Linked DNA regions of Homo sapiens: region 1 is linked to region 2. Evidence: promoter capture Hi-C in human tissues and cell types (Jung and others, 2019). All regions are on one chromosome and are shown on one strand. The core of a region is centred on a gene start or on the middle of the fragment in contact, and the rest is flanking DNA. Distances in the headings are between cores, read along the strand shown.

The links. Contacts are between HindIII fragments. The study calls those that stand out against the background at their distance.
Region 1: a contact is called between a fragment that was not itself captured here and the fragment with the promoter of RREB1 in region 2, in 1 of the 25 tissues and cell types used here (mesenchymal stem cells).

What each region holds. Positions count from the first base shown.
Region 1 is chr6:6,830,121-6,835,498 of GRCh38, reverse strand. No RefSeq gene overlaps it. Among named protein-coding and RNA genes, the nearest start is that of LINC03055, 53 kb to the left of the region's middle. The HindIII fragment of the contact is 5,235 bases long and covers 1-4,611 here.
Region 2 is chr6:7,104,826-7,110,125 of GRCh38, reverse strand. It overlaps RREB1 (ras responsive element binding protein 1), which reads right to left and starts at 2,165. Exons shown (of 13, transcript NM_001003699.4): 1 at 2,066-2,165. RefSeq lists silencers at 797-886, 907-1,396, 2,187-2,406, 2,467-2,946 and an enhancer at 3,297-3,356. The HindIII fragment of the contact is 13,967 bases long and covers 1-5,300 here.

The DNA of each region.
Region 1 (5,378 bases), core at 745-3,244, 270 kb after region 2:
CCCTAAATTTCAGTTCCCTCCTCCTCACAGGCAACCACTTTAAATGTGCTTGATTTAAGTCCTTGAATTCTATATATGTATGTATATATAATATGTATATATAACATGTGTATTTATGTATATGTATGTATATAAAACACATAGTGTCTTCGGTATGTGTTTGTTTAAAATGTACATAATTGGCTTTACACTATAGATACAGATAGAGTGGGGAGAGCCACTCTGCTCTCACACACAACACAGGTGGGAAGTGCCATAGGGTGATCACCACTTAGGAGCCGTCCTCCACCGAGGACTCTCAGGAGCTGACGTCAACTCTGGCTCCGTTGACTCTCAGGTGGAATCACTTTGAGGCTTGGACCATTTCCCAGAGTTCCCTCCCAGAGTCATGCACAGGGGCAGCTACTTTAATAAGAAGCCCTTATTGCCTTTCGTCCTCTTCCTGCATCACCTCCTCATTTCCCAGCTGGTATTGCTGGCACCTCCCAAATGCCCCACTTGCACTTGAGTTCTTGCTTCAGGGTCGGCTTTTAGGGAGATCCAAACAAGATGCCGTCCTTATCTTTGCCCTCCCTCTCAGCAGCCTGTCAAGTGATGAGGCTGGGCTCCTGACAGCCATGCTTGGGTAACATGAGCCTGTCCTTCTGCCAGTTGATTGGGCCAGAGAGAGAGAGAGCTGAGTCCACCTGGACCAATGAGAGTCCCTTCTCGGAACTTGGAAATTAGCAGGGATGGTGGGGGGCGGGGAGGGGAGAGAGAGAAAGAAAGAGATGGGCGAGAGAGAGAAAGTGATAGGAGAGAGAGGAGGCAAAAAGAGAGAAGAGAGAGAAATGTGTGTGTGTGTGTGAGAGAGAGAGAGAGAGAGAAGAAAGAAAAGAAAAGGGGAAAGAGAAATGGACAGAATGAATCTTTCCGGAGGGAGGTGGAGGTGGGGAGTGGGAGTATGTGCGTTGGAGCTATGAGCACGTTCTTCCGCAATACTCTGGGGAGCTCAAGTGGTCTGCAGAGAGCAAAATAAAGCAGGTGTGCAGAGCAAAGCATAGGCAAGGCAAAAGTACGCGGAGGTTTTGGCAGCCTTCCAGGTTGGGGTTCCAATCTTTTCAGAGGTCTGGCTCTATTTCTGCATTGACCAAAAAAAGTGCCCAGTTTTGGCTTACACTAGGATGACTTCTTTTACTTGCAGACAGAACATCTATCAACATAACTTTTGCTTCAAAAGTAATTCTTATTAAAAATAAATTGCGTTTTTAGGGCTGTTCTGAAATACATTGGCTCTGGAACTGAGATTTTTATTGTATATTTGTTCATCTGCTTCCCTAGGAGGCACGTTGGCACAAGAAAGAGGTAATTTCCACTTTCTCCATAAGGAAAAGCTAGGGGCTTTCTTTTGAGGGGTTCTTGTGTTCTCTGCTATCTTGGGACCTGAAGGGGCAAGAAGCTGGATTCCTCACACAGGTGTTGGCTGTGTGTGTGGAAGGCCATCCTGAGGGTCAGGAGGCTGGAGATGCCATCTGTGCACGAGGACCTCCAGGACCCACAGGTTGCTGGATGAGGGCACCCCTTGGCCAGCACTTCCAAGGACCTGGCGTGGATAGGACAGTGAGGTTGGCCACTGGGTCCTGCGGCCTTGGGGACGCTGGCAAGGCTACATGGCTGAAACTGTGGTTGATGGGAGGACAGTTGTGAGGGGCTGCCAGGGTGGCAGGGCACGCCAGAAGGGAGAACTTGCTCTTGGCAGTGGCTATGGGCAGCAAAGAAATAGTGACCATTCAGAGCTGAAGGCCATTCAGAACCCTTCCCCATTTCTCTGATGTGAGTAAGCCCTGGGAGTCCTACATGTTCCAGGATGGTAGATCATGAATATTGCCTTTTTTTTTTTTTTTTGAGACAGGGTCTCACTCTGTCACCCAGGCTGGAGTGCAGTGGGACGATCACGGCTCACTGCAAACTCTGCCTCCTGGATTCAAGCGATTCTCCTGCCTCAGCCTCCTGAGTAGCGGGACTACAGGTGCCCGCCACCATGCCTGGCTAATTTTTGTATTTTTAGTAGAGATGAGGTTTCACCATGTTGGTTAGGTTCGTCTCGAACTCCTGACCTCAAGCGATCCACCCACCTTGGCCTCCCAAAGTGCTGGGATTACAGGCGTGAGCCACCACGCCCGGCCTGATATTAGCCATTGTAACCAACCTTGGCAAGTGGTGCTGGGATTGAATTTAATTAAGAAAGTGCAATAAGACATTTGTTACACTCCAGGTGTGGTGGAAGAACTCATACTTATTCCATTTGTACATTTGGTAAGACATTTGTTACACTCCACGTGTGGTGGAAGAACTCATACTTATTCCATTTGTACATTTGGATAACTGTTCTGATTAAGGGTAATCATTCTTCATGGATGTATTTTGTCCTACAATTAAATCTCAGAGGTGACTGTTTCTTAGGAACGTTTTTAGGTGAAAATATAGAACCACTTCCACAATCTATTACAATGGAGAGAAAGGAGCGCAAGGAAAACAGAATTATCTAAGGAATTATCCAGTACCAATTATCTAAGCATTGGTACTGGACCAGTGAGAGAGCAAGTTAAACAAGAGAAACTGCTCTAGAGAAAGACATTTAGGGGACTAAGCCAAGAAGTTCACAGAACAGATAGAAAGACTAGAGAACAACTGCAAGAAAAAGAGGGGAAGCCAAGGGAATTCGGAGCCAAGGTTGTGCCTCAGGTTAGGGGGCCCCCCTGCCACCCCAAGACAGTGCAGGCATTGCTGTAGGTGGAACGCATGTGGCACCATTCTTTGCTTCTGTGTCACTTGCTGAGGACTCAGTGTCCTGTTAGATTGGCCAGACACATGTTGTTTGTTCAGGCTTGGCCTCCAGGGCTGAGGAACAGCAAATGTCTGGCTCTCTGACTACTGTAGTGGAAGGTGTGTGTCCCACCAAGACCGAGGCAGATTCCCCAATATGGCAAAGGGGTTCAGATGCGGAGCAGCCCAAGACCCCCTTGCATAAAGCTATTATGATAGGCAAACATCCACAATGAAAAGCAGCTAACACTGACACCCTTGTGGGCAGGTCGGGAGCATCCATGTCCCCAGGGATATCTCCCAGGCCTCTTCCCGTGCACACGATCTCTCTTCCTTCCCATGTGCCCTTCTGTGGCTGCAATCCCACCTCTATGCTGGTGAATCTGGCATCTCAAGCTTGGTTGCTATCTCCACGTCTCTTACGAGTTTCAGACTGTTACATTCAACCCACTCCTCCACATAGCCTCTTCCATGTCCCTCAAACTAAACTGAACTCATTATCTCTAAGAAAGTCTACGTGTGGGGCAGTGGAGGTCATGGACTCTGGGTTGGATACCTTGGGTTAGAAGCCCAGCTGTATAGCCTTGGAAAAGTTACAGACCTTTTATGGCTTAGTTTTGTCATCTATAAAACGGGGATAGCATCTATCTCACAAGGTTGTTACGCCGATTAAATGACTTCATGGATGGAAAACGATTAGAATATTTCCTGGCACATAGTAAGCATTCAATAAGTTTTTCTTTTCCACCAGATTTAGACCTTTCCTTATTTCCTTTTCTCAGCTAATACTCCTTAATCACATGCACTAGAAACTTCGAAGTCACACTTGACTGCTTTTTTCCTTCTCTTGATATTATAACAGTTTAAAAGTCTACTGACTCAATATCTCAAATGTTTCTCAGATCCTTCTCCTTCTGTCCAACCCCGCTGCCACTTCCTTGGTTTTGGCCACAATCCTCTTTTGTTTGGATAAGAGAAACAGTCCTCTAACTGGTTTCTTAGCCACCAGGTACTTCCAGTTTGTAGAAGGACAAAATTATTTCATGTGATAATCATAACAGCTAATGTTTTTTGAATCTCCACTGTAAACTAAAAAATCTAAGAGCTGGCAGGGAGCCGTGGCTCACGCCTGTAATCCCAGCACTTTGGGAGGCCGAGGTGGGCAGATCACAAGGTCAGGAGTTTGAGACCAGCCTGGCCAACATGGTGAAACCCCGTCTCTACTAAAAAATATAAAAATTAGCCGGGCGTGGTGGCATGCGCTTGTAATCCCATCTACTCAGAAGGATGAGGAAGAAGAATTGCTTGAACCCAGGAGGCAGACGTTGCAGTGAGCCGAGATCACGCCACTGCACTCCAGAGCCTGGATGACAGGGAGAGACTTTGTTTCAGGAAAAAAAAAAAATCTAAGAGCTTTACATGGATTTGTTCATTTGATTGTCACACCAACCTCCGGCATAGGATCATAATTTTTATTATCTCTCTTTGTAGATGGGCAAACCAAGGCATGGAGTGCTTAGAGGACTTACTCAGGGCTGCACAGCAGTAAATGGTCCAGGTGGGATTGAACACAGGCTCCCAGAGCAGACATTTATGTTCTTTGCTGGATCCTGGGCCCTCTGCAGGAGTTTCCAGGAGAGCTGGAATTTTGATTTCAATGTATTCTAAACTAAAATTATGAAACAAATTGAACTTGATTGATTTAATTAAATCTTTTTTTTCTTTTTCTTATTTATTTATTTATTTTTGAGACAGGGTCTTGCTGTGTTGCCCAGGCTGGAGTGTAGTGGTGTGTTTGTGACTCACTGCAGCCTTGACCTCCTGGGCTCAAGCAATCCTCTCACCTCAGCCTCCTGAGTGGCTGGGACTACAGGTGTGTGCCACCATGCCCAGGTAATTTTTGTATTTTTTGTAGAGAGAGTGTCTCACCATGTTGATCAGGTTGGATTTGAACTCCTGGGCTCAAGTGAGCCACCTGCCTTGGCCTCCCAAAGTGTTGGGATTGCAAGCATGAGCCACTGTGCTTGGCTGATTAATTGAAAATATGTAGATTAACACTGGTAGTTTCACTTGATCTGTTTGTCAGGTGATCATTCCTATATACGGCCCTGTGAGGAGAGAGGGCATTTGACAATTTGAGAGACTGACAGATAACGACATGCTCACTCATGTTCACTGCCAATGACTTGTCACATCTGCCAATGACTTGTCACATGTAGCTCATGTGCTACAAGGAGGTCGTGGTGTGGCTAAATAAGTGTGTGTGTGTATATACACACACATATGCATATATACATACATATACATATGTAGCATAGCATATAACTGACTTCTATGTAGAATCTTTTCACGTTTTATGAAATGGGAAGTAGAGAGGAAACATGTATTTCAAGTAGAGGTTTATTCAAGGCAAAGCTCTCAGGAGATTTGTCAGATCTGAAGATGCAGATTTGACAGCAATTCCAAAATTTCTGACCTGTTCTGATGAGTAGCTATCAGTAGATATAAGCTATGTAGAAAATCATCTTGAAAATTAAGAACAACTTAATTTGTCTCTTCTCAATACAGATGAC
Region 2 (5,300 bases), core at 916-3,415:
ATATAAAGGGGAAAAAAAATATCAAAAATAATGGAGATGCACTAGCAACTCTGCCTTTGCAGAAATCATTTCTTCTTAAGACAGAAATTCCTCGCTATTTCCAGCAACACCATTCAACAGGCAAACTTTATTTCCACTGGCTTTTAAAGAGCTAAGCTTAAATCTAAACTCTAAGAGGGTTCAATTTTCTACTAATGAAAACCCCCGGACAGGTTTTTCAACATACCAAAACGTTATATTTTTTTATTCACCCTTTTGTCTCTCTCCACATCCACCACCATCACAAGCAGCAGCAGCAGGAGCATCCTCAAACGAAGAAAACCCCTCCAAAGTGCCCCGAATGTGTGCTGCTGCTGGCTCTGAAGCCGTGTAGAATTTCGTAATGGAATGTGAACTGCTCGTCCGGATCTGGGCTCACGTTCTATCTCCTAACCAGTAAGGAGCGAGGGAGGGCAAATCTGCTGAGCAAGGAGAAATACTTTCCTCCTCTTTTATAACCCATCACGGATGCACGGCGGCCGAGGGGCGCGAGCTGCACGCGGCGCCTGTCAAGCGGCCCGGGCCCGCACCCCGTGGGGTCCCCGCGTCCCCCAGCTCCCCGCCCCGCCCGGAGAGAAAGGTGGCCTCGCCCATCGGTGGGCTCGGCCGACGCGCCCCGCACTCACGCGCGGCCGCGGAGCAGGTCACATCCTCGACGCGCCCTTGGCCCGGTCCAGAAAACACGCCGCTTCCCAGGGAGGGGGTCGGCGACGGGAAGGACCTCCCCTGCTCCTTAGCAACCATTAAGGTCGCAGTTTCCTAAGAGACCGCGAGCGGGGAGGGGGCGCGGGGGGCCCGGCCCAAGGCTTGTGCGGGAAGTTGGGGGCGGGGGGGGCAGCAACAGGCCCCCTCCCCCCACCCAGCTAGACGCCGGGGGCCGGGATGGGAGGAGGAAGGGAAGCCCCAGAACTCGTGAAAAACTGGTCCAGCGGGCGGCGGACAAAAGTTTCCGAGCGCGCTCCACAGCTGGGCGGCGGAGCGGGCCCCGGCGGCCGGCCCCGCCTCGGATGCTCCCGGCCTCCTTCCTGTGCTCGTGACGGCGCCGAGCCCCCCACCCCCCCCGCCCGCGAGGCAGGCTAGCTCCACACCGAGGGCTCCCACGAAAACACTCACCCCGCCAACGGAAGGGCGAGGGAACAATACGTGCCCGCACGGCTAGGGCCCGGTCCCCTCCTCCCCAGGCCCCCCGGGGCGGTGGTCGGCGTGACCACGACCGCCAGCCGGGAACCCGCGAGGGCGCGGGGCTGCCCGCGGCCCCCTCCCGGCCGGCGCCGTCCGCCCGGGAGGTTCAAAGTCCGCAGAGCAGGGCGCGGCGGATGCTCCCACCGAGCAGCCCCGAGCAGGCACCCCCGCGCGAGCACCCCGGGCAGGCACCCCCGGATACCTTAGGGCGGCGGCGGGAGGGCGGGCGCCGTCATCTCCGCGCTTCCCGGCCCGAGAAGGACTCGAAAGTATGTAGGAGAAAAGTTTCCCCTCCCACATGGGGGGGAGGATGTCGAGGGAGAGAGGGCGGAAGATGGAGAGCAGCGCTGGGAAGATGTTTCTGGCCGGCGGTGCGCGCACCATCCGAGTCCCGGCGGTGCTGGTTAAAAATAAACTCGGCGGCGCGGGTCGGGCCGGATTCCTGCGCTCGGACGGCTAATATGGATGCGCATCAGGTCCTGCTGGCGGGGCGCTGCGGCGGCTCGCGCTGGGAGCTGGTTGGCAGAGCCGGCGGCTCGGGAAAGGGAAAAGAGCGGAGGAAGGGGAGGAGGAGGAGGAGGAGGAGGAATGGCCCGGCGCGCAGCCCGAGGGGAGAGGGCTGCCCCGCTCATCCCTGGCCGCCCCGCCGGCCCGAGCGCACGCTGCGCGGAGTGGGGCGTGCGGGTCCCCGGCTCCGGGACACACCGAGTTTCAAAAGTACAACGCGCTCTGCAGACTTCACCCTCCCCATCCCCAAAGTTCTTTAAAAGGTCGCTCCGGCTGTGCCCCAGACTTCTCGCTGCCGCCGGCGTACCGCGAGTCGGAATCCGGGGCACGTACTTACGGCCGGGCAGGACGCTTGGCTCCCTGGCATGATGCGTTGGGGACCGGTGGGCTTCAGGGAGAGACCGAGGAGAGATGCAAACTTGTTCCGGAAAAGGAATCAAAATGGCGTTTCTGGATGTGCAAAGTTCATCAACTCCGCAGTCACTTCCCCTCCTCCTCTTCTCCCACAGGGAGGGAGGTGGGCGAGGAGCTGGCGACCCCGGCGCCCCAGCCGTCGTCCCGGCCCCCGTCTCGGCCCCCCGCCCAGCTTCCTCGCCCGCACGCTCGGAGTCTCGCTCTCCCCCTCTCACCCTGATAAGTAGACACATCACGTGTTGCTCCTGCGAGTCTCCTGGGGACGTGTTACTGAGCGGCCGCGGCGGCGGCGGCGGCGGCGGCGGCGGCGCTCGGACTGGGGGGGGTGAGGGGGAGGACCGCCGCCCCCGCCCCGACTTTAGCAGGGTGACCGCAGTTGCCATCCCGGGATGGATGGAGGTGGAGTCCCCTCCCCACCCCCCACCGCAGCCCCAGGTTTGCCCTACGCCCTCCCAAGGCGCCCCGGGCCATGGGAGGGCCGGGCTGCCCGAGGGGAAGGGTCCGGGAGGCCGCGACTGGCTGCGATCCCAATCGTCCCGTTGCTCGCGGGCCACCTTATTCGGCCACCGCGCCCCCTCCCCTGCAGCCCCTCGCCGCGGGCGACTCCCCGCCCCCGGCTTTCCATCACTTCACTCCGCAGTTTCACTATTTTAACGGAGGCGGGGGAGACACGGTGATGCCTCGGAATTGCGAGAGGGGCACCTCAGAGGCGCTGGAGTTGGGGGGATGGGGGGCGTAGGGCTCGGGGCCCTGGCCTGACGCCGCCCCTCTGGGTCTCCGAGGCATCTGCGAGGGGGAGCCCCGCCCGCGCCGTTTCCTTTCCACGCGGTCCTCGCTCTGCATCCAGGTGGGGCGAGTGGATGATGGGGCAGGAGATTAAGGAGCAGGCGCTTCACCCCGCCCCTAGCTTCGAGCCGTTTCTCTCCCGGGGCCATCCTTCTTACTCGGGCTGCCGCCCTGAGTGTGCTCGCCGTCTAACAAACTCAACTCCGACCCGACTTTGGTCCCCCTCCCTTACCCACACCCCACAAAGGATGCTTCAGCGGGGAACTGCCGTGGCCGCCAGGGGCTGAGGACGGTTCCTGCCGCCACTGTGTCCCCACCCCGCGATGGAATGGCTGATGCTGTGTCATCCACGTCGCCCTCCAAGGCTTCAGAGAAGCCACACGCAGTATCTCTTTCTCTCAGAGGGCTCCTGTTTCAACTCTGAAAAGCAGGGGCCCTTCTCCGAGCCGCTCTCCATCTCTCCAGCTCCTGCCACCACGCTTCGCACTGGCTGCCTTGCCCCAAGTTATCACGGAGCCCAGAGAAACCAGGCCTGGGCTGTGCTTCCTCCATAAAGCAGCTGACATGTTTCCAACTGTTAATACTTCTCCTACCGAGGTTCTGAAAGGGGTCTGTTCTCAGCCTTTGGAAACATCTTCAGAAAGATAAGGATGATTGTGGTTGTTGAAAATAAACACGCCCCCCCCCCCCCGCCCCCGTAGTTCTAAAGAAGAATGTCCAAAGAATACTACAGTAGAATTAAGCGTTTGAGTCTGGTTAGGCAAGATGATGTTATGCAGGCAGAAAGCTGGCTACTTTCTATTTACTATGACCTTTGACCCTGGCTCCACCACACCAGCTCCTCTGAGAAGGCTTGAACACCATGGAGAGTTGTAAGCCCAACTGTGGGCCTTTAATTTGAGCCCTTCCATTGACCTCTAGTTTTCAGGGCTGCAGACAGAAGTGTCTGTCTCGGGATGGGTCCTGGCCAGAATAGAACTCTTTAGAACCAAGGAAAAGCAGCTGGACCCTTAGGTCTGATATGAGATAAGTAGGCTAAACCACTGCCCAAGAAGGAGCTGATTCAGCTGGCTGTTTCTCTGACTTTCAGTCATCAAAATTAAGTTTTCGGAACCTGTTATGTTTCCCAGGGTCTACTGTTTACTGAAGAAAACTCCATCCAGAGAAATTTTAGCGGTTGCATTTTTCTGAGCCTCCCCCAACCCCGCCGCCCCCAAATGTATTATCAAATGCTTTTTTGAAGACAGGCCAGTCGTGGAGGAGATGGGCAGGTCTCTAGACAGGAATAATAGTTCACATTGCCATCATAGAATAGGTGTCTTGTGTTTCTAAGTTGTAATGTGTTCCAATGAGGGCAGAGGAAGGGCCCTGTGGGGAATGCTACTTTATTTACTCACTTTGTCTCTGATTCAGGAGCTAGCCTTTCCTGGTCTCCCCATTCAGGGATAAGTTTTGAATAGGAAAAATATCAAAATTGGAATTTTATGCATAATTTAGCAAATCTCCAATGCTATATGAATTTTCATGACAAATTGCCACCTGTATAATGCCATCTAGAAAATACTGGCAACAAAAAAGATTGAAAACAGTTTTACTACAACTTTTTTTAATTTTTTTTTTTTTTTGGAGACAGAGCATCACTCTGTTGCCCGGGCTGGAGTTCAGTGGTGGGATCACAACTCACTGCAGCTTTGAATTCCTGGTCTCAAGTGATCCTCCACCTTTAGCCTCCCAAGTAGGTGGGACTACAGTGCATGTCACCACATCTAGTTAATTTTAAAAGTTTTAGTAGAGAGGAGGTCTTGCTATGTTGCCCAGGCTGGTCTCAGGCTCTAGGGCTCAAGTGATTCTCCCACCTTGGCCTCCCAAATTGCTGGGATTACAGGTGTAAGCCATTGTGCCCAGCCTATTACATGTTATATTTTCAAAATTGGAGTATCATGATGCTGGGCCCTGTGTTTCTCATTTCTAGCTAATTAATAAACTTGGCAGTCAAACCAGCTGTTCAGGAGTCATGCTATCTAAACCATGATGAGATGCCACTTCACACCCACTAGGATGTTTATAATAAAAAAACAGACAATAAGTGTTGAAGAGAGTATGGAGAAATTGAAACCTTCATACATTGCTGGTGAGAATGTACAATGATGCAGCCACTTTGAAAAATAGCTTGGCAGTTCCTCGAAATGTTAAACACAGAGTTGCCATATGACCCAGCAATTCCGCTCTTAGGTACATAAACAAGAAATGAAAACATATGTCCACATAAAAACTTGTACTCAAATATTCATAGCAGCACTATTCACAATAGCCAAAAAGTGGAAACAACTCAAATATTCATCAGTTGGTGGATGGATAAACAAAATGTGATA